2 separate regions of the Homo sapiens genome follow, and region 2 is linked to region 1. Evidence: promoter capture Hi-C in 16 types of primary human blood cells and fetal thymus (Javierre and others, 2016). All regions are on one chromosome and are shown on one strand. The core of a region is centred on a gene start or on the middle of the fragment in contact, and the rest is flanking DNA. Distances in the headings are between cores, read along the strand shown.

The links. Contacts are between HindIII fragments. The CHiCAGO score rates a contact against its expected background, and 5 or more counts as called.
Region 2: a contact is called between a fragment that was not itself captured here and the fragment with the promoter of HEPACAM2 in region 1, in 1 of 17 cell types (neutrophils). The highest score is 5.8, in neutrophils.

What each region holds. Positions count from the first base shown.
Region 1 is chr7:93,223,699-93,228,978 of GRCh38, forward strand. It overlaps HEPACAM2 (HEPACAM family member 2), which reads right to left and starts at 2,771. Exons shown (of 10, transcript NM_001039372.4): 1 at 2,670-2,771. The coding sequence starts at 2,748. The HindIII fragment of the contact is 7,149 bases long and covers 1-4,820 here.
Region 2 is chr7:92,815,899-92,821,178 of GRCh38, forward strand. The region is part of intron 2 of CDK6 (cyclin dependent kinase 6); the gene reads right to left. Among named protein-coding and RNA genes, the nearest start is that of CDK6-AS1, 18 kb to the right of the region's middle. The HindIII fragment of the contact is 4,514 bases long and covers 750-5,263 here.

The DNA.
Region 1 (5,280 bases), core at 1,521-4,020:
CTATTTGCTTAGAGATTGCCTATACAATTTTTTATCAGATAAATTATAGGTAGCAAGTTATAAGAATGTCAGCAGGGAATGAAATTTTCTTTATACAGTATCTTATCTCAGCCACGTAAAATCTCTTCATTGGACATGAACCTATCAATATGATACAATCTTTGCTTGTAGTGAAATTTGGGAATAAACAGATAATTGAATGCTTCCTCCACATTCTAGGAACACATACTCTCTTATCATTGATGTGTCACCCACTACAGATGTGATGAATTCATGCTGTCAAACACAGTAGTTTACTAATGTGAGAAAACTTAGCTTCATTTTGAGAAATTTTCAAGTGCTCTTTTCTAGTTGTATGAGAAAACCCAAAGGACTAAACCTATTGATTTTAGAAAATCATCCTCTGCATGAACAGATAAACTTCAAGAAAATAAATAATATAAAAAGGTTGGTTGTGGTGGCTAATGCCTGTAATCCCAGGCACTTTAGGGGACTGAGGTGGCAGATTGCTTGAGCCCAGGAGTTTAAGACCAGCTTGGGCAACACAGCGAGACCTCTGTCTCTATTTGAAAAAATACAAAAACAAAAATAATAAATAATATAAAAATTGATGAAATTTAAATTTATTTTTAGTAGTCCAAATATTTGGACTTAAACGGAAATTTAAATTCGATTTTATTATTATATTCACTATTACTTTCTGAGTATAACAAACAAAAACTCTTATAAATTATAGTTCTGTTAAAAAAATCTTGACTTTTTGCATATAAGGCATTACACAAATCTGGAGAAACATTTATAATACTAATCATAATCTGACATACAAAATTGCAGCAATGATCCCTCCTTTACAGACCCTCTTACATTGTATGACAATAGCACTATAAAAAAGTATCCAGTGTTAAGGTACACTTGAAGTCCTACTGTAGAATTTATCTATATTCCAGCAACAAAGGACTCCCTAGACCGGTTTCATTGTATTGAATATAAACATCAGATTTCACAAAGTGACCTCTGCTGTAGCTCAAAATAGCTGGCATTTACTTCCCTGTTATCATGTGTGGTATTAACAAGCATAACACAAGTATTGTTGACTGAAAATAAAATCTTGCATCTTTAGAGAAAATAGAAATTATGATGTGTTTTGAATAAACTGTACAAACTGTACATTTTAGGCTTCAAATTTTTAAAAATTTTTTAAAAAGAAGAAGCAAACAAAACTTCAATATTCCTAAAAGCAAAGATTGCCAAGTCATCTGTGGTCTTTACAACACACTGCCTATGGAGAAAAGCAAATTTGCAGAAGAGAGAAGGTCTTAAGGTATAAAAACTGCTTTAGCTATTTATGAACATGCTATTTTCCTAATGTACATTTGTTTTATTTTAGTTGAATTCCTTAACTAAATTGTCTCTAAGTTCTTCTTAACGCCAGTTTCAAAAACAACACTTATAAAATGATAGTAGTCCTACTGTTTTAAATATAAAAATAAGTGGGATGATGACCCAGGATACTTTCAAAAGGAAGACAAATGCACAAAGGTAGTGACAGTTATAATAATTATTTACTTTTTCAAAAAATTTTAGAAAACAAAAATCTATTATAGGCTTAAATTTGATAACATAAATACTGTGATAACTGGAACAATCACAACTCTGGGAAACTCAAAGACTTAAAAAAATTTACAAACTGTACATTTCAAATGTGTGAGATAGGTACAACAGTAGGTATGAATTTGAATAATAACATTTACAATGCAAACTTTAACAAAATATAGGAGTGAAAGTAAAGCTCTAAATAGCTGAAGAAGCCTAAAAGTTAAATTGCTTATTTTGCTAAGCTGTTCTTAATTTTTAAAAAATGTAGCCTTAATTGAACTCCTATCTGTTGAATATAAACAAAACAAGAAATTGATTTGACTTTTAAAACTGATAAATAGGAAGAATGGAAATGAGAACATCTGGTGAAAATAATGTTGACAGACAGCAGTTGGAATGCTGGAAAGAGACTCCTTTAAACTCAAAAGATAAAGAGGAGAATGAGGGAAAATATTAAGGTAGAAAAAAATTCTTAATAGGACTAGCCATTGGGCAAAGAGAAAAGCTAAAGGCATTTTGGAGTAACAATCTTTTCAAATACGTTCTCCCTTTTGTGTAGGAAATTTTTTTGTTAGTTTGGAATCTTACCTTTCTTCCATATTTCATAAGATGAGACAGATAACTTAAAACGAAGCAGTAAACAGTTTGCAACAATATCTTTAATTAAAAAGAAAACAATTTTCGTAAATTATTTGTAGTTTCACTCTAAGTGGTCACAATTTCATGGCCTATTAGAATATTTGCTGAAATAAATGCATTAAAGACTATTGAACCTATATGTAAACTCTAAAAGAAGAAATTCATTATCTTTTAAAAATATCTGAATTATCTTAATGAGTGCTATGACAATAATTGTTGTTCCAAGAAAACAATAACAATCTATTTATTGAAACTCATTTCTCTTAAATGTTCCTGCTTCTTTGCTGTAACAGTGTGTTATTGTTAAAAGGTTCTGACCTGCTCTTCAATTATCTGAATGCATCTACAGCCTAAAGCAAATATTTACCTTATGTCCACAATTAAAAAAAAAAAACCTAACAAACAGCTAAAACACAATTCACACAGGGCCTTACCGAAGAGAAGGAGGTATATTTTGCACTGAAAGACCCCAAGTGTGTCACCGAAGGGCTCCATGAAAGCATCCTGTCCCATGCATGCAGTGCCCTGTTCTCAGTGGTAACTTGGACCAGCAGCTGCTGGTTTATTTGCTAGGGAAATTAGCAGTGAGGTAACAGACCCTATCTTGCCTCTTGCTTCTGTGATTTGAATACAGAATGAATGTGTATACAAAGGACACAGGGAGTGGGAACACCTGTTATGTGCTTAGCAAGAATACAGGCTTATGGCTTTCAGAAGAGTTTCTTAGCAACTACCAGTAATTGTCTATATATTTCATAAATTATACTTAGTTATTAAAAAATCACATGAAGGAAAACATCCTTTTGCGTGACTTTACTGAAAAATGGCATGTTTTCATAATGAAAGAATATTGTGAGATTTCCTTAAAAACAAAAGCTGGTTTTCTATCATGCAGAACTATGCCATTATTATTTTAAAATTAAAAAAAATTATATGAAAATTGAAGTAGCTCATGTATCTGCTAAACAGTTATAAATCTTCATGAAGTCACTAACATGTAAAAATTCTACCAATGAATCAAAAGAGAGATCCAGAATATATTTAAAACGTATTTTTTCTATGCAGTGTTTCCTATTACAATGACTGATTTCATTTAATCTTTGAATTCATCTTATTTTTAAAAGCAAATCACAGGTGTGTTTCCAACTGGGACTGAGGCATGGACCATGCATAATTATAATGAAAAGTGCATGCCAGGAGATAGTATCTGAGGCCACATTTTCACAGCTGATGCATAGAGGAAGTGAACCAATGATCTAGAAAAGATCTTACCTCTACTGCAGTGTCCAGGTTACAGGTTTTCAACCTGGTCTCTCCATTGTCATGGCAGCAGATAGTCTAAGCATGTCCGCTTAATTTACTAAGTTATTAGTTAACCCCTATTTGCAAGAAGGCTCTGGTTCTAGCCTTGTTATATAAAATGTTAAGGATATATCCAAATCTGCATCAAATCATCAAATCAAGGAAAATTCCTTGCATGCATCAGTTTTAACAGTAAAGGCCCACTGAAGAAGTTCAATGATAAGAGGGGAAGGAAGACTATACCTCAAGCATAATTAAAGTAAAAAAGGAATGATAGTAACTTTGGAATCCAAGTTTGGAAACACTCTTTGCATTAGGGCTCTGAACTCTTCTAGAAGGACTTCTATAAGCAAAGAAAGTAAGTGACTATTGGGAAAACGAAGTCCTCTTCAGAGATCAGTCACTTTCAGATCCCTCCATGCTTCAGAAAAATGGCAAGAGCTCCTCATGCTTCCCCCACCTCCCTGCAAAATAATAACAATGCCACAACTTTCTCTGCACTGTCTCTAAATCTGGTACACACATCTATTGCAGCACTTATCTCCTTAATCTTTATTTTATTGGATGTTTATTTTCCCTCTGAGCTCTCGAATACAGAGAATAATCTTATTCATTCATGGATGTTGGGCACGTAGCATAATGCTTAACTGGTATTTTTGTTAAGTTGTTTCTCCAGAAAACAAAACTCTAAGTGCTCCTTGGCCCGTCTTACGATTCTCAGTTGATGCGTAAGAAATACAAATAAATTTTAATATTGGATTGCACAAAATACAATTTGGAAAGTAATATGGAAGTTCTACAGATATCACATAGGTTCCCCCAACATCTTTTAGATTGATATTAATCTCCAATTGCCGTTATCAAATTAGCTGTTTTCAGTGTTTTTCAATCTAGTGCTGGATTATAATGAAGTTTGTTGGGTCCCTGGCAAAAAGAGAAATAAAGACAATGTACTGTGTTTTTCCCTAGTGTTAAATATACTCAATATAAAGGAGTTTTTTATTCTGAGATTTTCTTTGTTGTATTTGAAAATATTCCCTGTTTCATGACATAAGGTGATAGTAGATGCTACATTAAAAAATAAATGCCATATGAATCTTACTTGTAATCTTTTTATTTCATGGCACATATTGAAATATAATACGGCACATCTAGGGAAAGGGCTACTGGGATAATCATGACAAAGCGCCCTCTAGTGGTAAACTGTAGATATAAACTCTTACCTGCTGGAGTAACTTCTGATTTCAACATGTTTACACAGGAAGTGAGAAAAAGAGTGCTCAAGCTTAACTTCAACAATTGTTAATTTTTACATGATTCTTAAAAATAGTTTGAAGGTTTTATAATTATAAGAATTTTCCTACCATCCATATCTCACATCACACCTGTAACCCACTGGGAAGTTCTGCTGTTATCATTCCAGTCAGGAAAAAAGGGCCTGTAGTGTTACTGTTTACCAATCTTAGTTATATTTGCATTTAAAATGAGAAGGCTGATTAACCTAAAACAATCTATATCCACGGTGATTAAACTGCAAGCAATGTAAGGAGCCACTGGGATAGAGTATGCGTGTGTGTGTCCACGTGCATTTACAATGGGATATGGACACATATACTCCTGTGCAGGAGGGTGTGTGTGTGTGTGTGTGTGTGTATGTGTGTGTATGTTTGTTGGGGGCAGGGATTTTTATTACCTCTCAAATCACACTACACAGTTTACAATCTAGTTTATTTAAATTGCAGA
Region 2 (5,280 bases), core at 1,757-4,256, 410 kb before region 1:
AAAATGTTTCAAACTCCTTACCAGCCAAAGAAGAGAGACTACAAAAGAGTAATGTCTTAGTAGGGCTAAACTAGCCTGGAAGCAAAGCCTACATACACTAGATCCTCTCCCCAACAACAAAAGAGACAAACTAAAAATAAGCCTTGGAAGTATAAAACTGAACCACACATAACTTTACTGCCTGCCAGAACAAAATCCAATTCTCTTTAAAGGAGTAGAACAAAATCCAGCAGTTGACAATGTCATAGTCACAATGTTTGGCATCCAATAACACATTATTAGACATGCAGCCATACAGAACATGACCCATAAGCAGGAGAAAAATCAGTCAATAGAAATAGACTCAGAAATGACAGAACTTATGGAATAGCAGACAAAGAAATTAAATAAACTATTATAAACACTACAAAAATGCCCAAGGCCTTAAAGGAAAACATGGACACAGTGAGGAGAAAATTGGAAATATATAAATAAAAAATCAAATGGAACAAGTACCAAGATAAGCTATATGTTGGACCAAAGCAAGTGTTACTATCTTTAAAAAGTATTAGAATCATACAGAATTGTTCTCTGATCACAACAGAATTAGACAGAAAGAAATTAGAAAAATCCCTTACATGTTTGGAAATTTAAGAATCCATGGATTAAAGAATATATAACTAAAAATGGCTTAAAATAACCCAAATTGAATGAAAATTAAGCCACAACATATTCAAATTTGTGGGAAGATGCATATATTTGAAGATCCAAGCTTCTATTTTAAGAAGCTAAAACTAAGAACAAATTAAACCCAATGTAAGTAGGAAAAGAAGATAAAAACAAAATAAGTATCAAGAGACCACAGACAAACAGAAGTGAAAATTAATGAAACAAAAAACTGGATTATCATCAATAAAACTGACAAAACTCTATCTGTATGTCAAGATAAAAAGAGGAAAATGCAAATTACCAATATCAGGAATAAAAGAGTGGACATCACTACATATTCTACAGACATTAAAAAAGATAAGGAGTTAAAGAATCTATACCAATAAACTACCACCCCCCCAAAAAAACCCTAGGATAGACAAATCCCTTGAAAAATACAAAATTATAAAAGGTGATCTAACCTATAAGGTCTCATATCTATTAAGAAAATATAATTTGTAGTTAATAACCTACTCAAAAATAAATGCTAGGCCCAGATGACTTCATTAGTAAATTCTGTTAAATGTTTAAGAAAGAAAGAATGCCAATCCTACACAAAATCTTTCAGAAAATAGAAGAGGAAGAAACACTTCTCAACTCGTTTTATGAAGCCAGCATTACCTCAGAACAAAAATCAGAGTTATTATAAAAAAAATTATAGGCCAATATCATTCATGAATATTCTTAACAAAATTTTAGCAATATATAAAAAGGCTACATCATGACCAAGTAGGGTTTATCCCAGGAATGTGAGCTTGGTTTAACTTTCAAAATTCAATCAGTATAATTCACAGCACAATAACAGAGTTTTTAAAAAAATAATCAATTCAATTCTTCAGAAAAAACACTGACAAAATTCAGTACCCAATCATGAAAAACTCTCTAAGCAAACTAGGAATATAAGGGAACTTCATCAATCTGATAAAGGACACCTAGGAAAACTTACAGCTAACATCATACTTTAGGGCAAAAGTCTGAATAGTTTTCTCCTTATTATTGGGAACAAGCCAAAAACATCTGCTCTCACCACTTTTATTTGACATTTTTCTAGAGGTTCTAGCCAGGGCAAAAAAAGAAAGGAAAAGAAATAAAAGACATATATATATATAGGGGGGAAAGTACAACTGTCTATTCTCAGATGATGTGTCTGTGTATGTAAAAAAACTAAAATTTACAAAGAAGCTACCAGACTAATAAGGGAGTTTTTCAGATCACAAGACACAAGGTCACTATACAAAAAAGACTATAGCTCTCAATGACAAACACTTAAAAAGAAAAAACAATGCCTTTTACAATAACATCCAAAAACATTAAATGCAAAGAGATAAATTTAATAAAATGCAAGCAAGGGCATTACACTAAAAGCTACAAAACTCTGATGAGAGAAATTAAAGACCTAAATAAATGAAGAGATACACCATGTTCGTGATCAGAAGTCAGTGTCAATATCTATGCCTTCGCCCTAATTAATAGAGATTAAATGCTATCCCAATAGGAGAATTTTTGTGTTAACTAACAAGCTGACTCTAAAATTTATATGAAAATACAAAAGAAGAGCAACAACAATTTTGAAAAACAAGAACAAAGCTGGAAAATGTATACTACCTGATTAAGACCTATACATTATAGTAATCAAAGTATGACATTGGCAAAAGGATAGATATATAGATCAATGCAAAAGAACAAAGAGTCTAAAAACAGGCCCAAATGTATATGCTCAACTAATGTTTAGCAAAGCTGCCAAGGTAATTCAAAATGAAGAAAGCAAAGTATTTTCAATAAATGGTGCGGAAATAGCTGGATATCCATACAGGAAAAATGAACCTGAACTCTTAGCTCAAGCCAAACACAAAGACTTGACTTGAATGCATCACAAATCTAAAATAAAAGCAAAAACTATAAAATTCTAGAAGAAAACATAGGAAAAATCCTATATGCCCTGGAGGTAAACAAATATTTATTAGATAGGATACAAAAAAGCATAAGCTATCAAAGAAAAAAAAAGATGAATTGGACTTAGGTTAAATTAAAATATTCTGTTTGACATAAAGCATTAAGGAAATGAAAAGGTAAGCCAAAGACCTGAAGAAAATATTTGTAATCCATGTAGCTGACAAAAGACTGCTCAAGAACTCTTACAATACAATAAGATAACTCAATTTTAAAAAACGGTCAATTTGAACAGAAACTTCCCAACAGAAGGTATCAGAATGGTCAATAGCCAAATGAAAAGATATTCAACAACATTAGTCATCAAGTAAATGCAAATTAAAATCACAATGTGTTATTAGTTCACACTCACTATAGAATGACTAAAAATAAAAAGATTGACAGTCCCAAGTGTTCAGGAGGGTGCAAATCAAATGGAACCTTTATACACTAGCACTGGAAATGGAACAACCAGTTTGGAGAAGTTTGACAATTTCTTAAAAATTAAATACACAATTGCCATACCAGTCAGCAATCTACCTGTAGGTATTTACCATACAAATGAAGCATATGTCATATCAATACAAAGACCTGTACACAAATATTCACAACAGCCTTATTTATAACAGCCCTAAACTGGAAACAACAGAAATGATCATCAGCAGGTGAATGAATAAACAAATTGTGGTAAATCCATATAATGGAAAATGAACTACTCAAACAGTCAACAACATAAATGAATCTCAAAAACACTATCAATGAAAGCCAGATATAATAGAACATAATACTCTTTGATACTGTGTATATGAAACTCTAGAAAGGACAAATCTATAATGACAGAAAGAAGATTAGGTTGGCAGGGGTCCTGGTAGAGGGAGGAGATTCACTGCAAAGGGCCCTGTGGGATAATGCGAGTATTTTAGATATTGATTGTGGTGGTGGTTAGTAGGTGAATAAATTTGTCGAAACTCATAAAAAGCACACACTTAAAATGGGTGTATTTTACTGTATAAAAATTATACCTTTAGCTCGTTTTGACTTTAAAAAAGCCAAAGGATATTCAAAGATCACCAGGCATTTAAAAAATTCAGCCACAGGAAAAACAAAAAAGTTAACCAAAAAAACTAAACACTGACAGAAACAGAGATAATGTGGAGGACTTTAAAAAAATTCACAGTAATTCAAAGAAATATTACAGAAAACCAGAGGAGGATGCTTTAAAAACCAACAAGTGGAGAACAAAAAATGATGTTTTGAAGTTAAAAATATTAATTACTGAGAGTAAATTCAGTAGACATTTGGAAAATAATATAGAAGTTTCTTTAGAATACAAAGCAAAAACCAGAGAAAAGAGATGAATTAGAAAAAAGATTAAAAGAAGAGACACAGAGATCCCAACTGCAAGATCAAATATCTGACTAACAGAAGAACCTTGTAAAGAGAATAGAACAAATGATGAAGAAGCAGCCATTAAAAAAAATAAAACGAAGCAAATCTGCACTTAGAAAGATTCCACAGAATGCCCAGCAAATTAAATGGTGGCGGGAAACCCACCATATGTAGACACATAGTATTTCTGGAGAACACAGATTGTGATAAAGGCAAACATGGCAAGAAAAAATAAAAAGGCAATTAGAAACTCCAGGAAAAACAAAATGATACAAGAAAGTCATGGCCTGAATAAAAAGTACACGAAAATAGGGCATATTTTAAACAAGTGATGCAGAATAAGGAAAGAGAATCCAGATGTCTGTTTTTACAAAAGAAGGACTCCATCAGCTTCATAGGGTTATAATGTTGAACCTGGAGAGAAGGAAACATAAGGGCTGAATATTTGGCCTAGCACTGAACTCTCTCTATATAGTCAGAAGAATGTAAGCACTGTTTACCAGTGTTCAACTTGCAAGGGTCAACCTTTAGAAAAGCAGGGAAGCCTCTGTTGCAGTACGGAACAGAATGCAAATAAACAATTTTAGCAAAGTAGCTGATAGAAATTGTGATGTTAAAGGGAGAACATAAGTGGAAGAAAGGTTACGGGGATAAAATATTCTCCTCTTACTAAATGGAGAATCAAGAGATACTGCCCAAAGTGAAAGTATGAAAAATTGAAGTTTAGGGATATTATTTAAAATTATTATATGAAATAAAAATATCCCTATCTCACAGAAAGCGAAGGAAATACACAGTAATATTAACAAGGTAAGTCCTCATTTTTCAGAGTAGAAAGTCAATAGATATTACTGAAGTTTAAATATCAAGAACTAGAGCAACAGCATATTATCTAAATTTATGGAGACCATAAACAGAAGCACCAAAAACAGACAGTGAAAAGAAGCTGTATCTGAGTACTGGGAATAGGAATAGCTGTATCTGAGAACTGGGGCAGGAGCTTTGCCTTTTTATCATAAGCCCTTTCATACTATTTAGTATTAGTATTAATGTCATGATTACAAAAAAGCTGGGGGTGGGGGGGTGGAAATTCTTTAACATTCCTTCCATTAAGAGGTGGTGTATGTCTCTACCTCTTGAATCTCTGGGGCTTTGAACTCAAATATAAACAACAAAACGTGGCATAATTAACACTGCTTGTTCTCAGGGACACCAACTTTTAAAGCCATGAGCCAACATGTACATTCAACTATTCTGAAGCTTTGATGCTGAAAG